Regions from separate parts of the Homo sapiens genome. Here all the other regions are linked to region 1. Evidence: promoter capture Hi-C in 16 types of primary human blood cells and fetal thymus (Javierre and others, 2016). All regions are on one chromosome and are shown on one strand. The core of a region is centred on a gene start or on the middle of the fragment in contact, and the rest is flanking DNA. Distances in the headings are between cores, read along the strand shown. Region 1 holds the start of LAMC3 (laminin subunit gamma 3). Region 2 holds the start of ASS1 (argininosuccinate synthase 1). Region 3 overlaps ASS1 (argininosuccinate synthase 1).

Region 1 (4,765 bases), core at 829-3,328:
ATTTATTATTAGGTGTTCTACCATTTCCTACATCATTGCTGGCATCAGTTTTTTGTTTGTTTTGTTTTGTTTTTGTTTTGTTTTTTAAAAAACAGGGTCTTGCTCTATTGCATAGGCTGGAGTGCATTTGCGTGACCTCGGCTCACTGCAACCTCTGTCTCCTGAATTCAAGCGATTCTTGTGCCTCAGCCTTCCAAGTAGCTGGGATTACAGGTGTGCCACAATGCCTGGCTAATTTTTGTATTTTTAGTGGAGATGGGGTTTCACCATATTGCCCAGGCTGGTCTCGAACTCATGACCTCAGGTGATCTGCCTGCCTCAGCCTCCCAAAGTGCTGGGATTACAGGCGTGAGCCACCGCACCCAGCCAGAAAATGCCTATTGCTGGCATTGGTTTTCGTACTCTATCCTGTAGTCAGCCATCTTACGGAGCTCTTATTAATTTTAATAGTCTTAGTAGAATCTTTTAGATTTTCTAGATGTATGTTCAGGTAAGTAGAAGATATAAATATTTATATCTTTTAAGTTTTTTGTCTTATTGTATTAGCTAGAACTTCCAAAATAACCTTAGGTACCAGTGGTGATATCATATACTAACTCTACTTAGATATAGTTCTGAAATCTCTAACTTATTCCATGGGTCTATTCTGTAGTCCTTTCCACAACCGTATTGTTTTAATCATGTGTAAATAACTGGTAGTGAATCAGCCCACTACAGTTCATCTTGCTTCCAAAAATTTTCTTTCTTTCTTTTCTTTCTTTTTTTTTTTTTTGATGGAGTTTCTCTCTTGTTGCCCAGGCTGGAGTGCAATGGCATGATCTCAGTTCACTGCAACTTCTGCCCCCCGGGTTCAAACAATTCTCCTGCCTCAGCCTCCTGAGTAGCTGGGATTACAGGCACGCACCGCCACACCCAGCTAATTTTTGTGTTTTTAGTAGAGACGGGGTTTCACTATGTTGGCCAGGCTGGTCTCGAACTCCTGACCTCAGGTGATCTGCCTTCCTCAACTTCCCAAAATGCTGGGATTATAGGCGAGAGCCACCGCGCCAGGCCAGGAAATTTATTTCTATTTTCCTTAGAGTTCGTCTGGGAATGGCTGCCTTTTTTTTTTTTTTTTTTTCGAGACAGGGTCTGACTCTGTTGGCCAGGCTGGAGTGCAATGGCATGATCACAGCCCACTGCAGCCTAACCTCCCGGGCTCAAGGGATCCTTCCACCTCAGCCTCCCAGGTAGCTGGGACTACAGGCTTGTGCCATGACGCCGGGCTAATTTTTGTATTTTTTTGTAGAGATAGGGTCTCACTATTTTGCCCAGGTTGGTCTCGAACTCCTGGCCTCAAGTTATCCTTCCGCCTCCACCTCCCAAAGTGCTAGGATTACAGGCGTGAGCCACCGCGCACGACCTGGCTGCTAAATTTTATCGAATGACTTCTCTCCCTCGATTTGCTAATGTTAATAAATGGGGAGTAAAGGGGGCATTTATGGGGGTTGGGGCAGAAGACAAGGAAGCCCTCTCTGAGGTGACATTTGTGATAAGACCAGGTACCCTTGTCACAAATGTCAGGTTAGAATCTCTTTGCTGTGGGGACAGAGCGCAGCCGGCAGCAGGAGTGCTTTTCAGGGTTAAGGGCGACAGGAGCTATGCGGAGCCATCTCACAACCCTGTCCAGGGCACACTTTATTGCTAGGAGGAGATGCGCAAACGGTAGCGATCAGTTAGAGATAGATCCTCTTGTCCCCTTTTATCTCAGGACTCCAAGGCACTGCTGAACAGTTTCTGTTTAATGAGCAGCCATTGAAGCCTCCCAATGGCGAGAATGAGCCTGCATCTTTACCGACCCCACTCCACAGACGAGGAAACTGAGGCTCAAAGAGGCCCGGGTCGCCTCTGGGGCAGACTCCCGAGCCGCGCACTGCCGGGCACGTCCAGCAGGTGGGAGTGGGCGCCCGGGGACGGCGCGGTCCCTGGTATTTTTAGTGGGGTGGGGCCGCCGCCGCCCGCCCCTCCCTCCAGCCTCCCCGCCCCGCAGGGGAAGGCGGGTCCTGGCGGCCAGCGCGCGGTCCGCGCCCACCCTAGCCGAGCGGGGCCGGCAGAGCGCGCGGCGTCGGTGCCCTTGACCATGGCGGCGGCTGCGCTTCTGCTGGGGCTGGCGCTGCTGGCACCGCGGGCGGCCGGCGCGGGCATGGGCGCGTGCTATGACGGCGCAGGGCGCCCGCAGCGCTGCCTGCCGGTGTTCGAGAACGCGGCGTTTGGGCGGCTCGCCCAGGCCTCGCACACGTGCGGCAGCCCGCCCGAGGACTTCTGTCCCCACGTGGGCGCCGCGGGCGCGGGGGCTCATTGCCAGCGCTGCGACGCCGCCGACCCCCAGCGCCACCACAACGCCTCCTACCTCACCGACTTCCACAGCCAGGACGAGAGCACCTGGTGGCAGAGCCCGTCCATGGCCTTCGGCGTGCAGTACCCCACCTCGGTCAACATCACCCTCCGCCTAGGTAAGCGCGGGCTGGGGGCACCGCCACCGCACCCCGTGTCCCCACTCCACTGGGGGTCTGAGGCTGAGGCCTGAGCTGCTGTGCGCCCAGGTTGGGCTGCAGGACCCAGATATGGTGTTGGATGGAGGGGCTCAGAAATAGGAATTAGGCTGGGTGCGGTGGCTCACTCCTGAAATCCCAGCACTTTGGGAGGCCGAGATGGGAGGGTCGCTTGAGCCCAGGAGTTCAAGATCAGCCTGGGCAACGTAGTGAGATCCCATCTTTACAAAAAATAAAGAAAAATAGGCCGGGCGCGGTGGCTGACGTCTGTAATCCCAGCACTTTGGGAGGCCGAGGCGGGCGGATCACCTGAGGTCAGGAGTTCGAGACCAGCCTGGCCAACATGGTGAAAACCCGTCTCTACTAAAAATAGAAAATTTGGCCGGGCGTGGTGGTAGGTGCCTGTAGTTCCAGCTACTCAGGAGGCTGGGGCAGGAGAATCGCTTGAACCCGGGAGGTGGAGGTTGCCGTGAGCCGAGGTCGCACCACCGTTCTCCAGCCTGGGCAACAGAGCTAACTCCGTCTCAAAAAAAAAAAAAAAAAAAAAAAAAAGCTGGGCGTGGTGGTGCACACCTATGGTCCCAGCTACTCAAGAGGCTGAGGCAGGAGGATCACTTAAGACTGAGAGGTTGAGGCTGCATGAAATATGATAGTGCCACTGTGCTACAGCCTGGGCTACAGAGTGAGACCTTATCTCTTAATAAAAAGAAAGAATGAAAAAAAGAAGAAAAAAAAACAGGACCTGTACCCCTAGATAGCCAGAAGGATAGACTGAGGGGTGCCCCGTGGGGCGGGAGAGGCAGGGAGTCACTTGCTGAGCTTTGGTTCTAGGTTGCAATTATAATCCCCTGTAATGGTTTTCCATCCTAGACCAGAACTGTTGGGGAGGTGACACACCAAGGACTGAATTGGTCACCCTCTAGGGCAGGGGCTCCTGATCTTGGGTCTTCTGGTCAACTTCAGGTATTCAGTGGACCCCTGAAGCTGCCTGCAGTCCTCGGGTGGGTTCTGGAAGATAGAAGCTGTGATGTTCATCACTGCACAGGCAAAGTTTAACCCTCTGGGGAGGAGGACTAAGTTTCTTCGTGCTGCTGGGCAGCTGCGCCCGGTGGCATGGCCTCTCTGCCCTGCTCATGACTTGCCGAGGTGCAGAAGCCCTTAGATCTCCAGGAATCAGAATCTGGAGTCTGGACCCAGCCCCGGTTCTCAGCCCCTGCCCCCACTGCAGGGAGCTGGAATGCTCTCTCCTCCCTCCGTGTTCAGCCCGATTCCCATGTCCTCTGTGGCCGGGTAAGCGCCAAGTGTCTTTCCTGTTGCAGCCTCCACTGCCCTTTCAGGAGGGGCTGGTATCACTGGTTAGACTCCCTTATCTTCGAGGTCAGCCTCCCAAAGCTTTGAAAACTCAAATTATTTTTATAACTCATTTTTGCTGCTAAACCTGACCTGAGGCTATTTATAAGCTATGTTTATGCTAGTGAGAATGAATATTCATTCGCTTTGCTACTGAAATCTCATTTGAGTACAGCCGGCAGCCCCAGACCCCACTGGGGGTATTAGCACAATATATGGTATAAGGCCTGCATCGTCTTTCTAAAAGCTGAAAAATGTTCAATTCCCAAACACATTTGGAGCCTAGGAGTTTGGATTAGGGATGATGGGACTGTATCCCATGTTTCAGCTGAGAAAATTGAGGCTCAGAGAGGTTGTTTTGCCCAAAGGCACAGAGCTGCTAAGTGAGCATCTGAGCGTGGACATCCATGGACATCAGAGGTCAGAGCATAAACTCTTTGATGTGAGTTCCGCCACCCATCAACTGAGTCAGCTCCACCTCAGCCTGGTGACAGTGTCCTGGGGAGGGCTGGGAAGTGACATTGGAGTGGGGTGCGGGGAGGACCGTGAGCCCGCTCTGCAGAGCACACAGGTACTGGCTGCCACCTCAGAAACTCCCTTCTTCTGGGGCCACGTCACCTTCTCTCAGCCTATCTGGATCACTAGGTGGGGCTTCTGAATGGGACGAGGGGGAGGGGACAGGAAGCCAGTGGGGAGGGGGGAGGCTGGGGGAGCTGTCTGGATGGAGCTGGCAGGACCCCAAGGCCACAGGGGAAGGAATCTGGGACAGGGTGGGGAGTTGTTGGGGAGACACAGTGCTCCATGACAAAGGGTATCACATGTGTCCTGGGAACCCAGGGGCCAAGGAAAGAGCTCAGCCCAGGCACAAACAAGGTGGGAGGAAG
Region 2 (4,765 bases), core at 1,660-4,159, 560 kb before region 1:
TGAGTTAGGAAGGGTCTGTCCCCTAGGCTGGAACCATTTCTGCGGCAAGGAGTAAAGGTCCCAGCAGCCTGTGACCCTGGGACTGTGACCTCAGTTCAGCTCAGGCTGGAGCTAAAGCAGAGGGTTTGAGCCAGAGCTTCAGACACTGGATTCTAGCTCCGCTCTGCCACTCACATGCTGTGTGGCCTTGGGAAAGATACACCGTCATTCTGTGCAGCAGGTTTCTGCCCATACCATTGAGATAACAATCACAGGTACTTCATACAGGGTAGTCGTGAAGGTGAAAACAGAATGCTTGCTCTTTCCAGGGCGACCCTACCAATGAGAAAACAGGCTGCAGTGGGGAGTGACCGCCCCAAGGACACACAACTGCTGCAAGGGTGTCATTGTGTAGGTGTTCCTCACTTGCCTCCTGCTAGTGTGGGAGGCCCAGAGACTCCACGAGACCCCCAGCTGCTCCTGTGAGAGGGCTGAGGGGGGCCAGCTGTGATACCGCCTCCCATCTAGAAGGGGCCTCAAGCCACCCATGTACACCCAGCCCCACGTGGCTCACCAGGGGCCCCTTTGCCATCAAGGGCCACATCCCAGGTTTAAGTGTCAGAGAACTAAGGGGCTTAAGAGAGAATCGAGCTGTGGCTTTGTTTGTGAATTGGTTTGATCCTTTTTTCCTTCTAGAAGGACTCACAGCTACTGTTGCTTGCCATGGGCTTGAGGGGGTGGTGGGGGCTGACTGGCAGAGGGGCTGAGAGTGGATGGTGATTAAAAGGAGCACTGACTCCAGGGTAGCGGCTGGGCAAGGCTTGGGGCTCCCACCTCCCCCAGGTTCAGAGCCGGCTGAGGACCGGGAGTCCTCCCTTCTGGGGTCAGTGCTCACTATGGAGCAACTGCCTTGGATGGGGTCCCAGGACTTGCTCTTTTACTGGGGCTGTGGTTGCAGTGATCAGGGCTTTGGAGCCGGCAGACCAAGCTGGGAAACTCCTGAGGTAGAGAAGCTGTTGAAGGCGGGCCTGGGGTCACAACTCCCAGCTGCTTTTTACAAGCAAGAGACTTCTCTCTGAACCTCAACCTTCCCTCCTGTCTAGTGGGTTCGCAGCCAGACAGTCTTTTACTCACTGCTTACTGGGTGCCCTCTGGAGTCTGGGCAGGTGCCAGGCTCTGAGAAGACAGGCCAGCAATCAGCCCTGGCCTAAGGGATGAAAGCCGGGCCTTCCCGCGCCGGCTCACCTCGGTTTTCTCATCCTTACTCGGCTACCAGAGGCTATGGTTGGGGAGGGAGGGGGCTCTGGGGGCTGCAGAAGGCCCAGGCTGCCGGCACCGGATAGAAGTGAGCACGAAGCTCCCTGCGCCAGTGGAACTTTTATCCCGGCTCCCACCGCGAAGCGTTTAAATTGCTTCCCCAGGGCCAGGAGGCAAGTCTCTCGAAGGACGGCTGCGGCCACCCTCCGCCCCTGAGTTACATGGGTCGCAGCCACTGCCGCCCTCCTTGGCGCCTCCAGCCCGCGGGCCAGGGCCAGGAACCGCGAGCCGCCTGCGCCCCCGCCGGCGCGCCCCTGGGAGGGTGAGCCGGCGCCGGGCCCAGGCCCGGACCTGGTGGGAGGCGGGGGGAGGTGGGGACGAGGCCTGGGGAGGCGGGCCCCGCCCATCTGCAGGTGGCTGTGAACGCTGAGCGGCTCCAGGCGGGGGCCGGGCCCGGGGGCGGGGTCTGTGGCGCGCGTCCCCGCCACGTGTCCCCGGTCACCGGCCCTGCCCCCGGGCCCTGTGCTTATAACCTGGGATGGGCACCCCTGCCAGTCCTGCTCTGCCGCCTGCCACCGCTGCCCGAGCCCGGTAAGGAGCCCTCGGCCCCTCTCGCTGCCCACTCCCTAGCCGAGAGCACCCGCTTCCCGGGCCCAGAGGAGGAGGCGTAGAAGACGCCCGCCCCGGGGCCCGCGGAGGCAGAGGGCGGACCCCGATCGCCACTCGCCGGGGACTGGGACCGAGGCAGGAGGGAAGGGGCTCCCGATGCTCAAACGCCTGGCACCGGATTCCAGGTTTCTGGAGCGTGGGGGACGCGGCGGGGGCGCGAGTCCCCGGGGGCGCGAGTCCCCGGGTCCGAAGAGCGGCTCGGGTTATTTGTTCCCTGCGCAGCCGGGTCCTTTCTGGACTCCTTGTCGGATCCGGCTTCCTCTGTGTCGTGAAGCCCCCACATGGAGACCTGGGGAGTCCGGAGCGTGTGGGGGGGCTCCCGATTCTCTCTCCCTCTCTCGGACTCGCCGTCTGTCTCCACCTCTATTTCTCTGCGTAAAACCAGGAGTCCAGCCCCTCTGGGGCTTGGACGTATCGCTTTCCCCGCAGCCTCAGTTTACCCTGGACAGATGGGCATGGTGGCCCTGGCTCCCTTCCCTGCAGGGGGCGGCAGCCACCTGGCCCTCCCCGGTGGGGCTGGCGGCCTCGCGGCGGGGTTTCCTGCTGGCCTGGGCTGGGCTCTGTGGGAGGGGCAGTGCCAGGAATATTTTCTATTCGGGCTGCTGTTGCCTTTGGCCCCTGGGCGGCTGCGCCCTCCAGGGAGGCAGGGTCATTGTGAAAGAGAGGAAACTCCTCTCCCAGGCGGCCAGGGCTGTTCCTGAGGAGGGCTGGCCTGGCCTCAGTATTCTTCTCTGAGAAGTGGAGAGTCCACTCCCGAGCAGCCGAGTCAGGCTGCAGGTCTCAGGGCAGGAACAGACCTGTTCTCTCCCCAGGGGTAGATCAAGACCTAGGGGACTTGGGCTTTGATCCTCCCGCTCCCAGCAAGCACAAACCCAGTGATGGGGAGAGCTGGTGAGGCCTTGGCTCAGCCTCCAGATTCCCAAGCTTCCTTTTCATTTTCTTTTCTTTCTAAAAATTTATCAGAGATGTGGACTCGTCATGTTGCCCAGGCTGGCCTCGAGCTCCTGGGCTCAAGCGACCCTCCTCCCTCGGGCCTCCTAAACTGCTAGGATTACAGGCTCGAGCCACCCAAAGTGCCTGGCCCCCAAGCTTCAGTCTGTTAGAGCTGGCTGGGGCTGAGGGCTCAGGAAACATTTGCAGATACTGTGCGGCTGCTAAGGGCTCTGTAGACTGTTGGGTGCTGGGCCTGGGTCCAATTGCACAATAACTGTGCCTGGGGTTAGGTTCTGATGAGAGGGAGGGAGAAGCAGCCACACGGACTGGGAAGCTTGGCTAGGAGCAGGAACTGGAGGAGTCTCCATTCCAAACTCCCTCTCCCTCCCAGACCCCTTAGGCCCAAGGCCTAGGGCGGGGAAGTTTGGGGGTGGGGGCGGGACCCTGTCCTGGCGGGGCCATCTGTGCACCATGCTGAGAAGTAATTCTGGTTCTGCTCTGTGGGGGTGGATCAAGTGAATGAATAGTGACTCCTGCCTGCTGAGCGCCTGGCCGGTGCGGGGGCAGACACGTCGTGAGAGGGAAGGGGAGGCCCCACTCTCAGCACAGTCTCCATTCCTGAGTGCTTGGGAAGCAGGCCCAGGGCCGCAGGAGCCTTGGGGTGGAGCCAGGCCCAAAACAGCCTGCTGCACAAGCGCTTCCCCCTCCCAACCCGGGCCCATCTCATCTTTGGCCTGCTGGGAGGCCAGCCAGGTCAACCAGATGCCTCATCTGAGCACTGACTACACAGTCCCTGAAGTCAGTGGCTTGCCTGTGGGCACCAGGCACCCATGTGGAAAGAGGTAACTTCGCTGGAATTCAGAGTCTAAGGCTCTGATTTCTGATGTAGCTTTGGGCAAAGTTGATCTTCCAGGGCGTGGCTCCCTCCCCAGACTTGGGGTCGACCAGGCACCCATAGGCACTTTGATATGAGTGGAACGAATGAATGAATGTGCCCTTCGTCCATCACCAAAGACAAACCGAGCTCAGCTGAGTTAGAATGTCAGCGAGGGGTTGCAGGGGAATCTTCCACGGGGCAGTAGGCCTGAGCTATAGCACACAGGCTCTCCAGAGAAATAGTGGGCAGGTTGGCCATGACTCACTGGGGGGCTGGTTTTCTGGAAGGTGTGTAGAGTGAAGGGGAGATCTGAGGTCTCCTAGGAGCCAGGGAGTGGAAGGCCTAGTGCAGGGAAGAGCAAGTGGCCTGCAGTCAGGCTGGGTTTGAAGCCGCTAGCTTGTGACCTCGGCTGGCCGCTTAGCCTCTGCCTCCTCCTTTGTAAATAGGTGGTAATGGCAGTCTCCACCTTGAGAGGATGCACCTGTGACTGTGAACATAGTAGCCGCTCTTGTTGTCATTCCAGCTCTGACGTTTTCAAGTAGCACGAGTTTTCCTTAGTGTCAAGTGAGCGCCCAGGCTGGCCTGTTTGCTGGAAGCTGGACAGATGGCTGTGGCTGGGGCCACAGAGAATGCCATCCCAATGAAAGCCAGGTGGCTCTGGTACCTTGACGCGAGGCCACCTTCCCTCCTCCCAGGTGTCTCTTCCGGGGAAGGAGGGCTGGAGGGCAGTGGGCATTTGCCAGGGAGCTGGAGAAACCTGCCGTGGCCCTTTCTGGGGGATGTGGTGGGGGTGGAGCTGGGACTAGGGGAGGCTGAATTCAGCCAGGATCTGCCTGCCAGGCGCAGCTCCCAGGAAGAAAGCCCAATGTCTGGGAGGGTCAGAACCCAGAGGGCTGTCAGGTTGTACAGATGAGGAAATTGAGGCTTAGCAAGCCAGGAACTTGGCTGAGGTCAGCCATAGCAGCGGTGCACAGAGCTTAGTGGGCACATACATGCTTGGTGCCCAGCTCTGGGCTCCTTCCCCCAGCATCTCACCCAATCCTTACAGTC
Region 3 (4,765 bases), core at 1,025-3,524, 540 kb before region 1:
CCTCCCCAGCTGACCCTGTCTTTCCTTTCCCCTCCGCAGCTACGAGGCTGGAATCCTGGAGAACCCCAAGGTAATCCCCCAAACCCCATCTCCTCCCAGCTGGCCACCTTTGGTGGTAGCAGCTCCATGCCGATGCTGTCTGATGTATTTATAGCCTAATTTGAAATTTCACGGGGGCCAGCCGTGGGGCTGGGGCCGAGCCCTGCCTGTGTTCCCCGACCCCCGCACTGGCCCCCCTCTGCCCACCGTCTCCTCGCTGCATTTGAAGACCTCCCCCCGCCCTTCCTCTTCTAATTGCCTCTGGGATGAACAGGGGAAGGAAATATCTCAGGGCAGCATAGAGAGAGAGTGTGATTGTGAGACAATAAAGAAGTAATTAGGCAGATGAGACACTTGGGGGAGGGCCCAGCCTGTGCCCACCAGCTCCCAGGCTGTGCTGCTGGAGTTTTGGTTGTGGGGGGTGGGGGGAGGCATGGCTGAGAGCCCTAGGCCCCATTTGTCTGGATCCGTGTTGCACACCCGCCACCACCGGCCACCCTGATCCGGTCCCAAGCTTCCCGGGCGGGCTGGACTGGGCCCTCAGCTCTGTTTGAAGTTTCGGGTTTCTCTCCCGGGGGTAGGGGGCTTCTTTGTGTCTACCCCTGCCCACTGTGGGAGGTGGGGGAGGCAGGGCCAAATCTATCATGGGAAGAGAAAAATCTCTTTGTCCCTGAGGGAATGTGTCTTAGTTCCCGGGCCCAGCCCCACACCCCGGGGAGGCTGGTTTGGAGGCGGGAAAAGTGTGCTTTTTGAGGGGATGCAGCTGGGCCTGGGGGAATCAAGAAGACCAGCTGGAGGGGAGGGTGCCCGGGGAGGTTTGGTGAAATTGGGGAGCGCCAGAGCCCCGCCCAGGATCCCCCAGGGCCCGGGCGTCTGTCACTCTCACGCCCGCGTGCCGCCCCCTGGTCGGTGTTGGCTGTAATATCACATGGCAGCCACCATGTCTGGGGAGCGGGCCGGGGGTGGCATTGTCCTGGCTCAGTTCCTAGGACACTGGCTGGGAGCATCCTCACTTTATGGTTGAGGAAACTGAGGCCCGGGCACCGGCTGCTCAGGGCGAGGGAACGGGCCCTGGGGCTGGTGCCCTCCAGCTCTGTGGCTCCCCTACTGCCCACGGCCCCTCCCTGTCCAAACCTGTCACTCAGGAGAGCTGCCACCCTTGCCCCCTGGGGGCTGATGGCCCCTGTGTGTGGCTGCTGCCTGCTGGTCACAGGTTTTTCTAGTTCATGCTCTGCTGACCCCACAACACTCAGGCCAGCCACCCTAATTAGCCAGTCAGTCAGCTCCAAGGGAGGCAGGGAGGCCGAGCCTGCAGGGTGGCTTCCAGGCAGGGCATCCTCTCAGGCCCGTGGGCCCCAAGCATGCTGGGCAACCACTCCCGGCCATTCTCCAAGCAGCCTATGGCCTCTGCAAGCAGCCTATGGGGGCAGAGAGGAGGCCCCCCCAGAATAGAGGACCTCAGGATTGAGAAAGCAGAGCAAGGCCAGAGGGAAATCACCCCCTCGGACCGTGCAGGAGGGCATCCGGGGCCTGGAGCAGGTTACTGAGCTACGGTGGGCAGGTCCTGCGCCCTCCCAGGCCTCCTGTCTCATGAGGGCATTGGGTGGAGAAGTCAGTACTAAAGAGAATCTGGATTAAGGATCCTGCTACCTCACCCACACTTGGGTCCCAGAGACAGGAAACCCGAGTCTAAATCCCAACTTTTCTTCTTATTGCTGTGCAACCTCGAGCAAGTTACCCAACCTCTCTGAGCCTCCAGTACTCCTTGCCCAAAGTGGGAAAACACAGCACCTCCCTCCTAGGGCATCTAAAGCGCTTGGCCTGTCTCAGGGCAAGCCCTCAGTCATGCAGCTGGGGGTCCCATGCTACCTCTTCATGGGAGGAAGGGTCCAAGGTCCTCTCAGGGACCCCTCTCAAGAAAGGCTGGGCTGGGCTAAGCTGGGTGTGAGTCAGGGGAAACATCGTTCCTGCTGAGAGGCCCGGGGCACCCAGAGTCCCACCCAGGCACCCAGAGTCCCACCCAGGCACCCAGAGTCCAGTCACTCTGGAAAGAAGTTTGCCCCAGCCATGCAGACTCCCCAAGGGCTTTGTGCTGAGGGTGGGGCTCAACGTCAGGACGCACCCTTGCATCCCTGGACCTGGCAGCCCTGTCCCCCTCGGGATGAGCTCAGGGGAACAGAGCCTGGGGAACCCGTGCCCCTCCCCCTCTCCAAAAGAAGCCAGGAGACCTGCGGAAGGGAGGGCTTGAAGGCAGATGGCTGAGCCATTTTCTGCCTCCGTGAGGGCTGATTGAAGGGCAATGAGGCAGCTAATGCGAAGAAAGATAGAAATTTACTTGCTTTAACTTCATACGGTCCACAGTGAAAGAGTTCATTCAGTCGCCGGCCCGCCATAGCTGATGGATGAATAAACCATTTGCGGCATCGATCATGCCTCTACATCATGGTTTAGTTCATGGGCCATTTGCTTCCAATTTCTCCTTCTCGGGGCCTGTTTCATGCTTTCTTTCGCCCTCTCCCCCTAGCCCCCACCCCGACTCTCTCTCTCTCTTTTTCTTCACTCTCTTCCCTCCCCCGCACCCCCCCCCCCCCACAGATGACATTGGAAGTGAGCCCTCCCGCTGGGAGGGATAAATAGATGGCATTGATACTTGGCAACAAACTATTTGTCATTAGAACTGGGCTTTTAGGAAGGAGAGTAAAAAGAAGGCAGGCGCTCGAGCCACCGCGGAATGCAAAGCAAATGTCATTTTATTTCTATTTAGTTATTTTATTTAATCGGCGCTGTCAGGTGCCTGCCCGACAGCTGCCTCTGACTTCCGCTGCGGTCTGCAGAAACTCGTCCTCCAGTCTTCCCATCCCCTCTCCTTCCAAATGCACACACTGTCAGCCTCCACTTCGGTCTGGGGCTCCCTCAGGAAGTGTGGCGGGAGAGAAAGTGACAAGCAACGCATTGAAAACAGTTGACAGTCGGGCCCAGCGCAGGTGGAGGTGGGAGAGAGCTGGGCTTGGGTGGGAGTGGGGCCCTCGTACCGGCACCCTGGTTGGAGGCTTGGGGGAGTCCCAGGCAGCTGGAGATGGGGCTGTGGAGTTGTGTGGTCACCCCAAGATCCAGTCCAGTTCACTTTACCTTTTTGCTGAGGATGAGCCTTGGGACCCGTCTGTGCCCAGGGAATGCTGCAGTTGGCAGGGTGGGCCAGCCCTGATGCCTACCTGTGGCTGTGATGCTGGCTGGCTCTGGCCACAGGCCTCACCCTGTTTCTCAGCCCAGGTTACTACAGCAGCTGGGAACCAGCATAAGGTGGCGGAAAGAGTCCCTGTGTTTAGCTTCCAAAGCATGGTTTGGAGAAGCCACCTCTCAGCCTTGGCTTTCCCTGTGGTCCATAGAGGCATCAGGCTGGGGGTCCCTCAGGGCCCCTCCTACCTCCTGGAGTCTGTCTTCAGGGAAGGTTCTGGGTTCTTGTTCCTGCCCCACAAATGGGCACTGATGCAGGGATACAGCTGGCCCTGAGTCACATCGTACCTTGGAGGTGGGGGTGGAGGATCCACCACAGTCCCTGTCTTAGAAGGATCAATTGTCCTGGTTTGCCCAGGACTAAGAGGTTTCTTGGGACAAAGGACTTTCAGTGCTAAAACCAGGAGAAATCAGGGCACTTGGTCACTCTAACACAGAGCCACAGGCAAATGACCACAGGTGAGCTTCCAAGGCACTTATGTAGCCCCATCCCATGCAGAATGAGGAGGAGGCTGGGCCGAGCATGTACCCCCAGAGTGAATTTCAGCTGCCCTTTCCACCTGCAGAGCATGTTCCCGTTTGTACCAGGCCTTCCCTGACATTTTCCTGTGTGTTTTCATGTCCAATTAAAAAATATATATATACTACTTAAATTGTAAGATGGCCAAGGGCAGGTATCATTTTCCCCATTTTACAGATGAGGAAACTGAGGCTGGAGGAAGTGAAGCTTCCCCAAGGCCCCCCAGCCTGAGCTCTTGATCCTGGCACGGGGTAATGCCCATCACTCTAAAATACAATGTGTATTTGGCGAGGACCTCGCGGGGCTCCTGTCCTGAGTGCCAGGGAACAAGTCCCACGTGGTCTCTGCCTGCACAGAACTCACAGTTGTAGCTCCAGTCCCTCCCGCTCAGCCTCAATTTCTTCATCTGTTGATGGGGTAAGAGCGCTTGACCTTCTTACCAAATGGGGCTGCTGAGAACTCAGACTGCAGATGGGAAGCAATACGTGAATGTGTGCAAGGTGTTTTTTTTTTTTTTTTTTTTGGTGGGGGGGTGGGGGACGGAATCTTGCTCTCTCACCCAGGCTGGAGTGCAGTGGTGCAATCTCGGCTCACTGCAACCTCCGCCTCCCAGGTTCAAGCAATTCTCCTGCCTCAGCCTCCTGAGTAGCTGGGACTACAGGCGCATGCCGCCATACCCGGATAATTTCTTTTGTATTTTAGTAGAGATGGGGTTTCACCGCGTTGCCCAGGCTGGTGTCGAACTCCTGAGCTCAGGCAGTCCACCCACCTCAGCCTCCCAAAGTGCTAGGATTACAGGTGTGAGCCACTGTGCCCAGCCGTCTGCAAGGTTTTTAAAGCAAAGATGAGACAGCAGTTCCTGGATGTCAGCAGGTGAACAAGGACCCCAGGCACAGGATGCCCACAGGAGGGACCTGAGCAGTCAGGCCCAAGAGGCCCCAGTCCCCACAGTGGCAAATGTCCAAGCCACGG

What was found. Contacts are between HindIII fragments. The CHiCAGO score rates a contact against its expected background, and 5 or more counts as called.
Region 2: a contact is called between a fragment that was not itself captured here and the fragment with the promoter of LAMC3 in region 1, in 1 of 17 cell types (M0 macrophages). The highest score is 5.4, in M0 macrophages.
Region 3: a contact is called between a fragment that was not itself captured here and the fragment with the promoter of LAMC3 in region 1, in 1 of 17 cell types (M0 macrophages). The highest score is 6.7, in M0 macrophages.

Annotation. Positions count from the first base shown.
Region 1 is chr9:131,007,096-131,011,860 of GRCh38, forward strand. It overlaps LAMC3 (laminin subunit gamma 3), which reads left to right and starts at 2,079. Exons shown (of 28, transcript NM_006059.4): 1 at 2,079-2,492. The coding sequence starts at 2,120. The HindIII fragment of the contact is 4,105 bases long and covers 1-3,921 here.
Region 2 is chr9:130,443,169-130,447,933 of GRCh38, forward strand. ASS1 (argininosuccinate synthase 1) reads left to right here and starts at 1,793. Exons shown (of 15, transcript NM_054012.4): 1 at 1,793-1,827. RefSeq lists a silencer at 1,596-1,715 and enhancers at 2,596-3,263, 3,933-4,600. The HindIII fragment of the contact is 165 bases long and covers 2,828-2,992 here.
Region 3 is chr9:130,471,446-130,476,210 of GRCh38, forward strand. It overlaps ASS1 (argininosuccinate synthase 1), which reads left to right. Exons shown (of 15, transcript NM_054012.4): 8 at 40-70. Among named protein-coding and RNA genes, the nearest start is that of ASS1, 29 kb to the left of the region's middle. RefSeq lists enhancers at 1-374, 375-1,111. The HindIII fragment of the contact is 3,447 bases long and covers 552-3,998 here.